Linked DNA regions of Homo sapiens: region 1 is linked to region 2. The links are contacts of gene promoters, found by promoter capture Hi-C in human tissues and cell types (Jung and others, 2019). All regions are on one chromosome and are shown on one strand. Each heading gives the region's core, a stretch centred on a gene start or on the middle of the fragment in contact. The rest is flanking DNA. Distances are from core to core; before and after follow the strand shown. Region 1 overlaps WWP2 (WW domain containing E3 ubiquitin protein ligase 2). Region 2 holds the start of CYB5B (cytochrome b5 type B).

Region 1 (7,203 bases), core at 2,968-5,467, 440 kb after region 2:
GGGCAGAAGAATGGCTGTTGGAAAGGCCTTAAGTTAGGAATGTGCCTTTGGAGTTGAAGGAACAGTGGAGAGGCCAGTCCCACTGGAGAGGAAGGGGAAGTGGAGTCATAGGAAGAGATGACACTGGTAAAGGGTGGTGCCAGATCATTCTGATGAATTTCTGCTTTATGTATTTCGAGGTTATTTCATTGGATCTAGAGTACAATTTGACATATGTCTTATGGATGAATAGAACGTTTTGGCCTTATCTTGTTATTCTTGTTTTTAGTGCTTTTTCTCTTAAAATTTATTTGGTCTGAAGCCAGGCACAGTGGTATGTGCCTATAGTCCCAGCCACTGGGGAGGCTGAGCTGGGAGGATTGCTTGAGTCCAGGAGTTCGAGTCTAGCCTGGGCAGCATAACAAGACTCCCATCTCTAAAAAAGATGTATATTTATTTGGTCTGACAAATAAAAAGTAACTTAACAACGTGAATGACTCTTAAAAGTATTAGGCTAAGCTTAAGAAGCCAGACATAGAAGCTTATGTTCTATATGATTCCATTTATATAACATCCTGGAAAAGGCAAAATTCTAGGGACAGAAATCCAATCTGAAGATGTGGGGGCATTGGAGGAGGGATTGACTGCAAAGGGGCACAAGGAAATTTTGGGAGCAATGGGAATGTTCTATGTCTCAGTTGTGGTGATGGTAACACCACTATAAACATTTGGTAAAACTTGCCAAATTGTACCCTTAGAAAGGGTAAATTTTACTCTATGTAAATTATACCTTAATTTTAAAAATCATTAAAAGACCCATTTGGTGGCCAGGTGCGGTGGCTCACGCCTGTAATCCCAGCACTGTGGGAGACTGAGGTGGGTGGATCACGAGGTCGGGAGATCGAGACCATCCTGGCCAACATGGTGAAACCACATCTCACTAAAAATACAAAAATTAGCTGGGTGTGGTGGCATGTGCCTGTAGTCTCAGCTACTCGGGAGGCTGAGGCAGGAGGATTGCTTGAACTTGGGAGGTGGAGGTTGCAGTGAGCTGAGATCACGCCACTGCACTCCAGCCTGGGTGACAGAGGGAGACTCTATCTCAAAAATAAAAAATAAAAAAAAAATACAACAACAACAACAAAACCCGTTTGGTGTGACGTTAACCTAACTATCCCAGCTTCCTTTTGTTTTGTGTCCACTTGGCATATTTTTTTCCCTATTCATTTCATTTTAACCTATTTGGTACTTATATTTTAGGTAGTGTTTTTTTGTAACAGCATTTAACTAGAGTTTTAAAAAACCATATGATTTTAAACTGTCACAGTTCATTTATGTTTCTCGTGATTCTTGATATCTTTAGAGTTGTTTTCTTCCTCTTGTTAATTTCTGTCTGTCCTACAGTTTCTGTTTCCCATCTTTGACTAACTTTCCACTTTTTTTACTTTTTTTGAGACAGAGTCTCACTCTGTCGCTCAGGCTGGAGTGCAGTGGCGCCATCTCGGCTCATTGCAACCTCTGCCTCTGGGGTTCAAGCGATTCTCCTGCCTCAGCCTCCCGAGTAGCTGGGCGCGCTCCACCACGCTCAGCTAGTTTTTGTATTTTTAGTAGAGATGGGGTTTCACCTGTTGGCCAGGCTGGTCTCGAACTCCTGACCTCGTGATCCACCTGCCTTGGCCTCCCAAAGTGCTGGGATTACAGGTGTGAGCCACCACGCCTGGCGTAACTTTCCACTTTCCACTGTGTTTGGTCTGCCTTTTCAAGAAAAGTCTTGATGGGTTGAAGGTATCTTTGGCTCCCTGACTATTTGATAATGGAGTGTGAAATTCTGCATCCAGTGGTGTGAAGAGAGCAAGAGCTCATTGACTGGCTCCCGGCCTGAAGGTTTTCTGTTTGGCCTTATGCTGAGTTTTATATACAGCATGTCTATATTTTGGGTCTACTTTGTGTGTTTTGTGTTTTCAAATGGCCTTTGAAGGTCAACTCTTTTTTTTTTTTTTTTTTTTTTTTGAGACAGGGTTTCGCTCTGTCACCCAGGCTGGAGTGCAGTGGCACAATCACAGCTCACTGCAGCCTCGACCTCCCAGGCTCAAGTGATCTTCCCACCTCAGTCTCCCAGGTAGCTGAGACTACAGGTGTGCGCCACCATGCCTGGCTAATTTTTAAATTTTTTTTTGTAGTGACAGTGTCTTCCTGTGTTGCCTAGTCTGGTCTTGGATCCTCTTTCCTCAGCCTCCCAAAGTGTTGGGATTATAGGCGTAAGCTACCGCATCCGGCCTAACAGTACAACTCTATAACGACAAAATGACACAAAGAAAATTTAATGAAATTAGTGAAAACCTAGAGTAGGATGTGGTGCAGATACTCATTATTTTGTAGTGGAGAATGGGAGATTAGGGCCCGGTTGGTTTTGTTCCTTTTCTTTGAAATTTTACCTTTAGAACCAGTAAAAAAAAAAAGTTTTCTTTTAAATAAAGTTATACATTTTTCTTTACACTTAGAAAAAGGATGATGAATTGGAGACTTCCGAGGAGTTATTTCTTCCACCTGGTTTGTGGTTTTTTTGGGGAGGAAGGGGCTTGGGGGAAGTGGTGCTGAAGCTTTCACTCAAACACCAGGCCACGGCTCTGTGTGCCTCATTCATCTTTGTGTCCCCAGCAGGACCTAGAATAGTGCCTCACTGCACGTAGTAGCAGCTCAATAAATATTTGCTGAGCTGAAAGAGTCTCGTGTTCCTGCTCTTCATTCGCCAAAACTTCTGGGTGGGTCATGTTGCTGGTTTACGTTCCCTGGCGCCTTGACTCCTGAGATGCGATAATTTGAGGACCACAGAGAAGAGGGGGCGCCCTTTATCACAGCCGCCTTGTGCTTGCAAGGTGAACCACCAAGAGTGTGCTGGGGTCCCACTGCCTGCACAGTCTCTGTGGCTTCATCTGTTTTTTTCTTCATGATTGATATTTCTGTGTTGAATGCTTTTCACCGACTGTTCTTTTCAAATCCTTGCAGCTTTTAAGGTTAGTATTGGAATCAGAGAAGAATTGACACATAAATAAGTCTTGTTTGGGAAAAGAAGGTGTAAAGTCCGTGTACTTCAACTCTGCCAGAAAAGAATGTTACTTACCCTCTAAGAATAGGTAATATCTCATTTATACTAGGTGTTCAAATTCCCAAGTGATTATTGAATCTTAGGATTGAGTGTCTCCTTGAGGACATTAGGATCACTGGAATGCTGCTCCTTCGACATGGGCACTGGATCCCACAGAGTGATGCCATAACTGTATGAGGGCTGCTGAACTAGACCAGCAAGAACTGGGTCAAGGCTGTTCCCTAGTCATGCATGTATTTGAGAGTTCCATCTTCTACTGTGGAAATTGAATTGTCATTTATTTGCATTCATTTTCTATTGCTCTGTAACAAATCACCACAAACTCAGGGCTTAAAACAACACCATTTATTAGCTCACAGTTCTGTAGGTCATAAGTCCAGGATCACACGGCTGACTTTTCCCTTCAGGGTCTCACAAGGCCAAAATCAAGGCTCTGGCAGGACAACATTCTTATCTGCATACACTGGGGAAGAATTCATATCAAAGGTCATTCAGGGCTGGGCACAGTGGCTCACGCCTGTAATTCCAGCACTTTGGCAGGCTGAGGTGGGCAGATGGCTTGAGTACAGGAGTTTGAGACCAGCCTAAGCAACATAGCCAAACCCCATCTCAACAAAAAAAATACAGAAATTAGCTAGGCATGGTGGCGCATGCCTGTCATCCCGGTTACTCAGGAGGCTGAGGCGGGAGGATCGCTTGAGCCCAGGGAGGTCGAGGATGCAGTGAGCTGTGATTGCACCACTGCACTCCAGCCTGGGCGACAGAGGGAGACCCTGTCTCAAAAAAAAAGAAAAAGAAAAAAAAAGTCATTCAGGTCCTTAGCTGAATTTAGTTATTTGCAGTTGTAGGACTGAGGTGCCCATTCCTTGCTGACCATCAGCGGGGGTCCCTCTCAACTCCTTAAGCTTCCCCCTGGCCCCGACCCCTGCATTCCTTCTCACGGTGCCCCCTCCACCTTCGAGCCAGGAAAGGAGTGTCAGATCTCCCTGTGATTTGAATCTCTCTGATTTTCTCTCCTGCCACCTGCTGGAGAAGGCGCTCTGCTTCCAGGAGGTGATGTGATGCTAATTAGACTGAGAGAGCACCGCCCCCCACCCCCGCCCCGCCCGATGATCCCCTTTCTTAAGGTCTGCTGTGGTACACGACGACATACTTGACGACATACTCAAGGGTGTGGCACCTTGTCATATTCACAGGTTTTAGGCATTGGAGGGGGGCTAGAGTGAGAGGGATGTCATTTTAGAAATTCTCCCCACAGTAGAAAGACTCTCTCTAATGGGCCAGCCATGGTGGCTCAGACCTGTAATCCCAGCACTTTGGGAGGCCGAGGTGGGAGGATCACTTCACCTTAGGAGTTCAAGACCCCCATCGCTATAAAAAAAAATCAAAAAAATTAGCCAGGCGTGGTGGTCCGATTCCATTCTTTAAAGGAGTCGGGGAGGTGATGAGTGACTGGATTGGAAAGAATATGCAAAGTACTGGAGGTTACAGGCCCAAGAGTGATTTTGAACCTGACAGCTTGCATCTTTCCTTCATTCAACAGATATTTCCTGAATCCTACTGTGGGCCAGGCACACACTAGGTGCTGAGTCTCCAGAGGTTCACAAAACAAGACATGATCTCTGCCCTCATGAATGTGTAGTGACACATAGCAGTGCCATAAAGGGAACAATTAGGATGTTATGAGAGAATGAAAGGAAATTTACTGTAGCCTGGGAGATGAGGGACATTTGGACTGAGATTTGGCCTAGGAATTTGGCCACCTGGGTGGAAAGTCCAGGAAGAGAATGCCGGGCAAGTAGATCAGCAAAGGGTCTGACTCTCCCTTGGTAGGGGTCTAGAGAGGTATTTTGAGGGATGTCCATTGAACATATTCTTTTTGGAGCCTGCCTCCGTCCTGCTGAATTCCTGCCTTGTGATTTGTCGTGTCAGAACACTTAGAAATAATGCTCTACCCAGCTCATGCCTCTAATCCCAACACTTTGGGAGGCCGAGGCTGGAGGATTGCTTGAGGCCAGGAGTTTGAGACCAGCCAGGACAACATAGCAAGACTCGATCTCTAGTTAAAAAAAAAAAAAGGAAAGAAAGAACACTCTAATATACTGTAGTCCCCCATTCATTCAAGGTCCTGTGTAGTCCTTTCTGGTCTGGAGCTATAGTAAAAGGAGGCAGTGAGTGGGCCAGATTCAAACAGGGAATGATGCCAGTAGCGAGAAAGTGAAGAGGCTTTTCTGGCGCACCTGTACAGGTTGTGCTCTGCATTCCTTGGGGGCCAGCCCCATGGAGATTCCTCCTGTGCACAGTGGAGGTTGATGGGGATGCTCATCTCCTAAGCGGCAACAGTGTCCTATGCACTCATAATTCAGGGTCAGGGGATCTCAGGTCATAGGACAAATCACAGGCTGCTGTCTCTGTTCAGGGTACCTCAAGCCATCAATGGCCACGTTGAGCAGGTGAACACTTCCCCTCTGAACTCTCTAGCTCTCTTTGAAGTTTGGGAGGGCATTTGAGCACTCTTCTCAGCTAAGCCCAACATACGGCCTGGAAGTAGATTGGACAAGTCACCATTTACTATACCTTCTCTCTCAAGGTGAGTTTTTTTAGTCTAATGAAATTGCCACCTTTGAGAAGGTTGCTCTGTACTCTAGGGTGCGCAAAAGGAAATTGTTTGTCTTCCGGAAGTCTTTCTGTAATTTAGAATGGACTTGGCAGCGATTTTATTTTTACCTTCCCTGTCATTTGTGAGGCTGGCAGTCCAGAGGTAGGGTGTGGAATGGAGCCGTAAATTGCGCTTGCAGTGACCAGAAGGGGCCCATTTTAACTCTAATTGTGCCTTTCCCGGTTCACTTCTCCTTTTACCCGCCCTCTCCTTTTTTTTTTTTTTTCTAATCCACATTTGAGTGGGGAGGAAGAATTGAGGGGGGTGCAGGTGGGAGTAGGTTTATTTATTGGCGCTTCTCTGGGTGGTGGACACTGTTTCTTTTCCCATTACGGCTTCCTTTTTTATTTTTTCATGCTTCTATTTTAAGTGCCTGTTTCTTTCTGGTTCTGTCTTGCTGGAAACTGGCCCAGCTCCACTGAATTTTTTTTTCCATGCAGCTATTAAAAGACAATGACCAGTTAAGAGTGTGCTCAGAGGAAGGACAGACTTGAGGTGGGGAGCCCTCTTGGTTCTAGTAATCCTAGGCAAATACCGCTTACCCGGATTGGAATGTGAGAGGAGTTTTATTAGGTAATTTTACTTTTTGTGCCTGTTTTATAGGAGGAAAATCAATAATCAGGTTGTTTTGTTTTGTTTGTTTGTTTTGAGACAGACTTTCGCTCTTGTTGCCCCGGCTGGAGTGCAATGGTGTGATCTCGGCACACTGCAACCTCAGCCTCCAGGGTTCAAGTGATTCTCTTGCCTCAGCCTCCTGAGTAGCTGGGATTACAGGCATTCGCCACCATGCCCGGCTAATTTTGTATTTTTAGTAGACACGGGATTTCTCCATGTTGGTCAGACAGGTCTGGAAGTCCCGACCTCAGGTGATCCACTCACCTCGGCCTCCCAAAGTGCTGGGATTACAGGCGTGAGCTACCGCGCCTGGCCCTTGTTTTGTTTTTTTGAGATGGAGTCTCGCTGTGTCACCTAGGCTGGAGCGCAGCAGCAGGATCTCTCTCAGCTCACTGCAGCCTCCATTCCCCAGGCTGGTCTCGAACTCCTGACCTCAGGCAATCCAACCACCTCGGCCTTCCAAAGTGCTGGGATTACAGGCATGAGCCACCATGCCTGGCCAGTAATCAGTTTTTATACCTTGAAACTTCTCTTTTGCTGAACTTGAATACCAGTGGGCCTGAATCTGGGGTCAATGAACCTCCCTTTCATATTCTGGGCCTCTTTTACCAAGATAGAAAAGTATGCTTGGAACCTGGTATCCAGCCAGCCATGAATTCTTTTTTTTTTTTTTTTTTTTTTTTTTGGAAACAGGGTCTCTTGCTCTATTGCCCAGGATAGAGTGTAGTGGTGTGAGTGTGATCACAGCTCACTGCGGCCTCGACCTCCCCAGCTCAAATGATTCTCCCACCTCAGCCTCCCGCATAGCTGGGATCACAGGCACTTGCCACTATACCTGGCTAAT
Region 2 (7,356 bases), core at 4,601-7,100:
CAGCCTCCCAAGTAGCTGGGACTACAGGTGCGTGCCACCATGCCTGGCTAATTTTTTGTATTTTTAGTAGAGACGGGGTTTCACCGTGTTAGTCAGGATGGTCTCAATCTCCTGACCTCATGATCTGCCCGCCTCGGCCTCCCAAAGTGCTGGGATTACAGGTATGAGCCACCACGCCCGGCCAGATGGTTAAGTTTTTGAAAACCATTCAGTGTAATTCACCATATTAACGGAATAAAGGAGGAAAATAATATGATCATTCTGATAGATGTATAAAACATATTCAACAGGCCAGGCACAGTGGCTTATGCCTGTAATCCTAGCACTTTGGGAGGCTGAGGTGGGTGTATCACATGAGCTCAGGAGTTTGAGACCAGCCTGGGCGACACGGCAAAACCCTGTCTCTACAAAAAATACAAAAATTAGCCGGGTGTGATGGTGGGAGCCTGTGGTCTCAGCTACTTGGGAGGTTGAGGTGGAAGGATTGCTTGCAAGCCCGGGAGGTTGAGACTGCAGTGAGCTGTGATCGTGCCACTGCACTTCAGCCTGGGCCACAGAGCAAAACCCTGTCTCAACAACAACAACAACAACCAAAAAAAAAAAAAAAAAAAAAGAAAAGAAAAGAAAAGAAAAAATATTCAACAGGATTCAACACCCTTTCTTAATAAAAACAAAATAAAAATAAAACAAACTCAGGAAACTAGATCCTCAAGATCCTCAAGCTGATAAAAGACATCTACTGAAAAATTATATTAAATTGTGAAAGACTGAATGCTTTCCTCCTAAGATTAGGAACAAGACAGGGATGCTAACTTCACCATTTCTATTCAACACTGTACTGAAAGTCCTAGCCAGTGCAACAAGGCAAGGAAAAAAGAGGCATACAGATTGGGAAGAAAGGTGGAAGCAAAGCTGTCTCTATTAGCAGACGACATATTTATTACATAGATAATTCTAAGAAATCCATAAAATAATTACAGGAACTATAAGTGAATTTGGCAAGGTATAAGATAGTAAGTCAATGTACAAAATCAATTATATTTATCTAGACTGGCAGCAAACAATTGGAAAATGAAATAATTTCATTTATAGGGGCATTAAAAAACGAAACATTTAGAAATAAATTTAATAAAAGATGCTAAAGATGTCTACATTGAAAACTACAAATTAAACTGAAGTAAATGGTTCATGAAATGTAAGGTTTTTAAGGTGTCTTTTTTCTGTAAATTCATCTATAAGCACTTTTGTAAAATTAAGAAGCTGATTTTTTTTTTTTTCTTCTAGAAACAGGGTCTCACTCTGCCACCCGGGCTGCAGTGCAGTGGCACAATCATAGCTCACTGTAGCCTCCAACTCCTGGGTTCAAGCAATCCTCCTGCCTCAGCCTCCCAGGCAGCTGAGACTATAGGTGCCCACCACCATGCCCAGCTAATTTTTACATTTTTTTAAAGAGATGAGGTCTTGCAGGCCAGGCACAGTGGCTCACGCTTGTAATCTCAGCATTTTGGAAGGCCGAGGTAGGCGGATCTCCTGAGGTCAGGAGTCCAAGACCAGCCTGGCCAACATGGTGAAACCCTGTCTCTACTAAAAATACAAAGAAATTAGCTGGGCATGGTCGTGGGCACCTGTAATCCCAGCTACTCAGGAGGCTGAGTCAGGAGAATTGCTTGAACCCGGGAGGCGGAGGTTGTACTGAGCCTAGATCATGCCACTGCACTCCAGCCTGGGTGACAGAGTGAGACTCGTCTCAAAAAAAAAGAGATGAGGTCTTGCTATGTTGTCGAGGTTGGTCTTGAACTCCTGAGCTCAAGCAATCCTTGTGCCTCAGCCTCCAAAGTGCTGGGATTACAGGAATGAGCCACAGTGCCCAGCAAAAAATAATAACTTTTTTTGTAATAATTTTAGATTTACAGAAAAGTTGCAAAAATAATACAATGAGTTTCTGTATACTCACTCAATTTTCCATAAAGATAGCATTTTACATTACCATAATATGTTTGTCAAAAGTAAGAAATCAACACTGGCACCTTACTGTTTTATTTGGATTTCACTAATTCTTCCCCAGTGCCCTTTTTCTGTTCTAGGATCCAGTCCAGGATACTATACTGCGTTTAATTGTCATGTCTCCTTAGTTTACTTGAGTCTGTGACAATTTCTCAATCTTTCCTTTTTTTTTTTTTTTTTTTATGAGCTTGTCAGTTTTGAGGAGTACTGGTCAGGCATTATGTAGAATGTCCCTCAGTTTGGGTTTACCTGATGTTTTTCCCATGCTTGGACTATGGTTATGGATTTTGTGGAAGAATGCCACAGTGGCAACATGCCCTTTTCATCACATCACACCGGGGGTACATGCTGTCAACATGATTTATTATGGAGATGTTTTAATTTGATCACTTGGTCAACAAGCTGATTTTAAATTGTGTGTGGGGCCGGGCATGGTGGCTCATGCCTGTAATCCCAGCACTTTGGGAGGCCGAGGTGGGCGGATCACCTGAGGTCCGGAGTTTGAGACCAGCCTGGCCAACATGGTGAAACCCCCTCTCTACTAAAAATATGAAAATTAGCCAAGTGTGGTGGTGGGGGCCTGTAATCCCAGCTACTCTGAACCCGGGAGGTGTAGGTTGCAGTGAGCTGAGATTGTGCCATTGCACTCCATCCAGTCTGGGTGATGAGAGTGAAAAAAAAAAATGTATGTGGAAATACAAAGGATCTAGAATAGCAAAAATAATTTTCAAAAGTTAAGAGCAAAGCTATAAGACTTATATTACCTGATTTAGTGCCTTACAATAATCAAGACTGTGGAATTGGCACAAGGATAAACAAATAAGTCATCGGAACAGAGTAGAAATTTCAGAAGGAGAACCACACTTATATGATCAATCAATTTTCGACAGATACAGGAAAACAATTCAAGGGGGAATTGTGTTTTCATCAAATGGTGCAGGAACAAGTGGGTATCCACATGGAAAAAAAGAGGCTAAGAAACCTGCCCAAGGTCACCAAGTTTGTGAGTGGCAGGGACAGGTATTCCAAGCCAGACTTTCTGGCTAACATGTGCTATCAATTGTAAATATAAATTTATAACCAAAACATTTAGGTCACAATAATTTTTCAGTGTAAAATTCAATTTGAGGCTATACTATTTAAAAATGTCAATGTCATGAAAGCAAAAGCAAAGTTAAGGAAATGTTCTAGATTAAAGGGGACTCAAGAGACTTAGCTAAGTGCAATACATGATCCTGAACTGGATCCTGGGTCATACAGGCACACTAAAATTTCACAAAGGACATGAATGCAATAATGGAAAATAATATGGAGAGTATGTTAGATAATAATTTTGTGTGAATGTTAAATTCTCTGAATTTGAAATTCATACTGCAGTTACGTGACAATATGTTCTTATTTTTAGAAGATACATGTAGAATTATTTGGCTGTAAAGGGTGGTGATATCTGAAATAGTTCAGCATTATTAACAACAATGATCAAAATAATATGGAAAAAATCAAATATTGAAAAATATTAACAGTTGGTAAACCTAAGCTAAAAGTATATGGTCATTCATTGTATTATTCTTGTAACTTACTTATTTGAAATTCTAAAAACATTTTCAAATATAATGTTACAGGTATATATCACTTAAGTGCTAGAATTTGTAATTTTTTTATTTTTTATTTTTATTTATTTATTTTTATTTTTTTGAAACAGGGTTTCGCTCTGTCATCCAGGCTGGAGCACAGTGGTGCGATCATACATCACTGCAGCCTCGACTTCCCAGGCTCAAGCCATCCCCAGATCTCAGCCTCTCAAATATCTGGGATTACAGTTGTGTGCCACCATGCGTAGATAATTTTTGTATTTTTTGAAGAGACAAGAGCCTCACTATGTTGCCCAGCCTGGTCTTGAACTCCTGGGCTCAAGTGATCTGTCCACCTCGGCCTCCCAAAGTGCTGGAATTACGGGGCTTGAGCCACCACATTCAGCCTGTAAATGTTTTTATTTCTTTCAGAGATTTTGTTTCTTATGTTATCTCTCTACTCCCAATGCCTATCATAAGACTTGTAACAGTAAATAGTAAATGTCTGGAATAAATGTAAATATTTGAATCTAGAGTTTGTGGAGGATCCTAAGAATCTTGTGAGATTGCTCTCATAGTGTCAGTCTAACTAGGGAGGTAAAATACGTAAAGTTAAAATTTACAGACGTAGCAGGCTTCCCAAAATAGTAATATGCTTTCTTAGGTACTACAAAGGGATGGAAGCACTGGAGCTCAAAACGGTAGGAGAAGTTTGAAAATAGAAGAAACTGAAGAGGAACTTGAAAAGCCGGTAGGCATTGAAAGGAAGAGGAGTCCTTGGGACAGCAATTGAGGGTAGAATGTGGAGTATCCCATGTTTCTACCACCATTCAGAATCCGATTTTCAAATGAATTCTGTGATGATCAGGATCAATCTGCACTATTTTAGTCTCTAAGTGATCTAAAATTAACTTGGTGGACCTGGGATGACCACGGATGTGGTTTTAAACCAGCAGGTTTCAGAGTCGGGGCGGGTGCAACAGGCTTATAAAGGGAATGGTGGAAAATATTATACGTTAGTGAAAGAGGTTGCGAATGGATTGTGGAGAGCCCTGAATGGTAGACTGCGAGAGTGACAGGATGAAAACGACGACATCATAGGAAGAGCAATCTGTCAGTTGTAATGGCAGTTAAAAAGTGGCGCACAACACTGTACCTTAACCAAACTTGGAATTCCAAAGTGCTGGGACCTCTAGCGGAGAGCAGTTGAGTTCAATTCTATTTTAGATCACGTAGAGACTAAAATAGTGCCGATTGATCCTGATCATCACAGAATTCGTTTGAAAATCGGATTCTGAATGATGGTAGAAACATAGGATACTCCACATTCTACCCCCAATTGCTGTCCGGGACAGCAATTGCCTTTCTAATCGACTGCCATGTTTAGCGATTACTATGCGCCAAGCGCTTTACAGGCACTCTCATTAAAATAGGCAAACCGGGCCAGGCGCGGTGGCTCACGCCTGTAATCCCAGCACTTTGGGAGGCCTACGCAGGCGGATCACCTGAGGTCAGGAGTTCGAGACCAGCCTGGCCAACATGGTGAAACCTACTCTCTACTAAAAATACAAAAATTAGCCGGGCGTGGTGGCGCATGCCTGTAGTTCCAGCTAGTCGAGAGGCTGAGGTAGGAGAATCGCTTGAACCTGGGAGGCGGAGTTTGCAGTAAGCCGAGATCGTGCCACTGCACTCTGGCCTAGGAGACAGAGCGAGAACTTGTCTCAAAAAAAAAAAAAAAAAAAAAAAAGGCAAACCCCTCTGTAAGAGAGTGCTTTATCAAGCCCATTTTACTGATGGGGAAATTGAGGAGAGACGGGATTGGCCAGATCACGACCTGGAGGCAGCAAAGATGTAAAATCAGGGTTGGGATACAGGCTGCGCCGGTAGTGTAGGGGATAGGAACTTTCTGAGACTCAGGAGAAAGCCACAGCGATGGGAAGGGAAGCAGAACACTGGAGACCCTAAAGGCCCACAGGCTGAGAGAAGTGGTACCTCTCCTGAAGTGACACCTGTCAGCACGCCTCTTTTGGGCGCCAGTCCAAAAATCGCGGTATCTGATTGGCGAGGTTGGAGGGGGCTGAACGACCCTAATTGGTTAGTTGGACCTCGAACCAGACTTTCATCTGGAGGATCGGGCGAGGAGTGGGCGGGATTTCGAACTGAGCCACTCCCTTCATTGGTGAAAAGAAAACGAACCAGGAACTATTCGGAAGTGTGATTGGCTGTTGCTAGGAACCGTCTCAAGGCCTTATGGGCCCTGGTTACGGAAGCCGAGGAAGGCTGAGCGCGGGCTCTCAAGGAAAGTAGTCGCGGAATCTCAGTTAGCGGTGGAGAGGCAGTATGTCCGGTTCAATGGCGACTGCGGAAGCTAGCGGCAGCGATGGGAAAGGGCAGGAAGTCGAGACCTCAGTCACCTATTACCGGTTGGAGGAGGTGGCAAAGCGCAACTCCTTGAAGGAACTGTGGCTTGTGATCCATGGGCGAGTCTACGATGTCACCCGCTTCCTCAACGAGGTGGGGCCTGGGAGGTGGGAGGCCTCTGAAGCTGCTGGGGCGAGGGGTGAAAAGGCTGTGTGGAGTGTATGTGGGAAGGAAGGGAGGCTTGGCTGGGGGCGATAAGGCGTAAGAAAGGGATCACGACCCTCAGAGGGAAACTGGGGTGGGATTGGGGGAGGGCTTTAGTTTGCATGCATTTCCAGTCAGCTCCGAGTTCTGGTGCCTTATGTAATATCATGTATTACTTATGTGTCGAGCATTTGCTGTGTGCTCAGCTAAACTCTAAGCCATCATTATCTTTATTTTACAGAAAGGGAAACTGAGGCTCACAGGTTGAGGACTCTCAGGGCCATAGAGTTAGCAGCTTAGATCCGTTGAACCTAGGTCTGAAGTGCACCCACATCTGTGCTTTTCCAGTGTGCCTTCTGAAGTAATACCGGTTTTGGTTTTCGTCTTCTAGAGTAGAAGCTGAGATTTCTCTCCACACGCTTCCCCATCTTGATTATGCCTCCACTGTTTTTTTTTCCCCCTAATCTGAGTTGACCTTGAGGCCAGAAACTCATAAATCAACCCTTTTTTTTTGTTTTTGACTCATGTTTTGTCATTTTTCTTAAATATTCAAGACTGTTTTATTTAATCTTCAAGTCTGTTGCATTACATCTCATTTTAAAAATTATTTTTGAGACCATGGTGCAACTAATTTTTTTTTTAAGGAAACAGGATAGACTTCTAAATATTTAAAACTTTATTGAGGTGTAATGTACATACGTAAATTGTGCCTATCTAAAATGTACATTTTGATGAGTTTTGAAAAATGTATTCATCCATGTTAAGACATAAACCATTTCCATCATTCTAAAAAGCTTCCTTTCCCTTTGCAGTCATTCTCTCCCAACCCCAGGCAACTAGTGATATGCAGCCGCTAAAGATTGGTTTGAAGCTTTGATTTTCGGTGTGTGTATGTTTGAAGCTTTGATTTTCGGTTTGTGTGTGATCATTTTATTTTGAGCAATAGATTAATGACTTGTGAAAGTTCACTTCTATTTCTCTGAAGCAAATATACTAGTGAAATATTTTTTCGATTAATTTGGGGCCTAAAAGAGAAATCTCTGCATCCTGACTTTTAATTCTAAAAACTTTTAAAATTTAAAAGTTTCCCCCAAAGAACATTATTTTTAATAAATCTTAATAGTGAACAATAATTTAACAAACTCAGAATTTACTAACTTCTTGCATTTGTATGGTGTATGGCATTTTATGCTTTTAAAAGTGCTTTCCGGTCGGG

The links. Contacts are between HindIII fragments. The study calls those that stand out against the background at their distance.
Region 1: a contact is called between a fragment that was not itself captured here and the fragment with the promoter of CYB5B in region 2, in 1 of the 25 tissues and cell types used here (stomach).

What each region holds. Positions count from the first base shown.
Region 1 is chr16:69,855,691-69,862,893 of GRCh38, forward strand. All of the region lies in intron 6 of WWP2 (WW domain containing E3 ubiquitin protein ligase 2), which reads left to right. Among named protein-coding and RNA genes, the nearest start is that of MIR140, 74 kb to the right of the region's middle. The HindIII fragment of the contact is 7,416 bases long and covers 510-7,203 here.
Region 2 is chr16:69,418,769-69,426,124 of GRCh38, forward strand. It overlaps CYB5B (cytochrome b5 type B), which reads left to right and starts at 5,851. Exons shown (of 5, transcript NM_030579.3): 1 at 5,851-6,089. The coding sequence starts at 5,916. RefSeq lists enhancers at 5,134-5,681, 5,682-6,229. The HindIII fragment of the contact is 13,364 bases long and covers 1-7,356 here.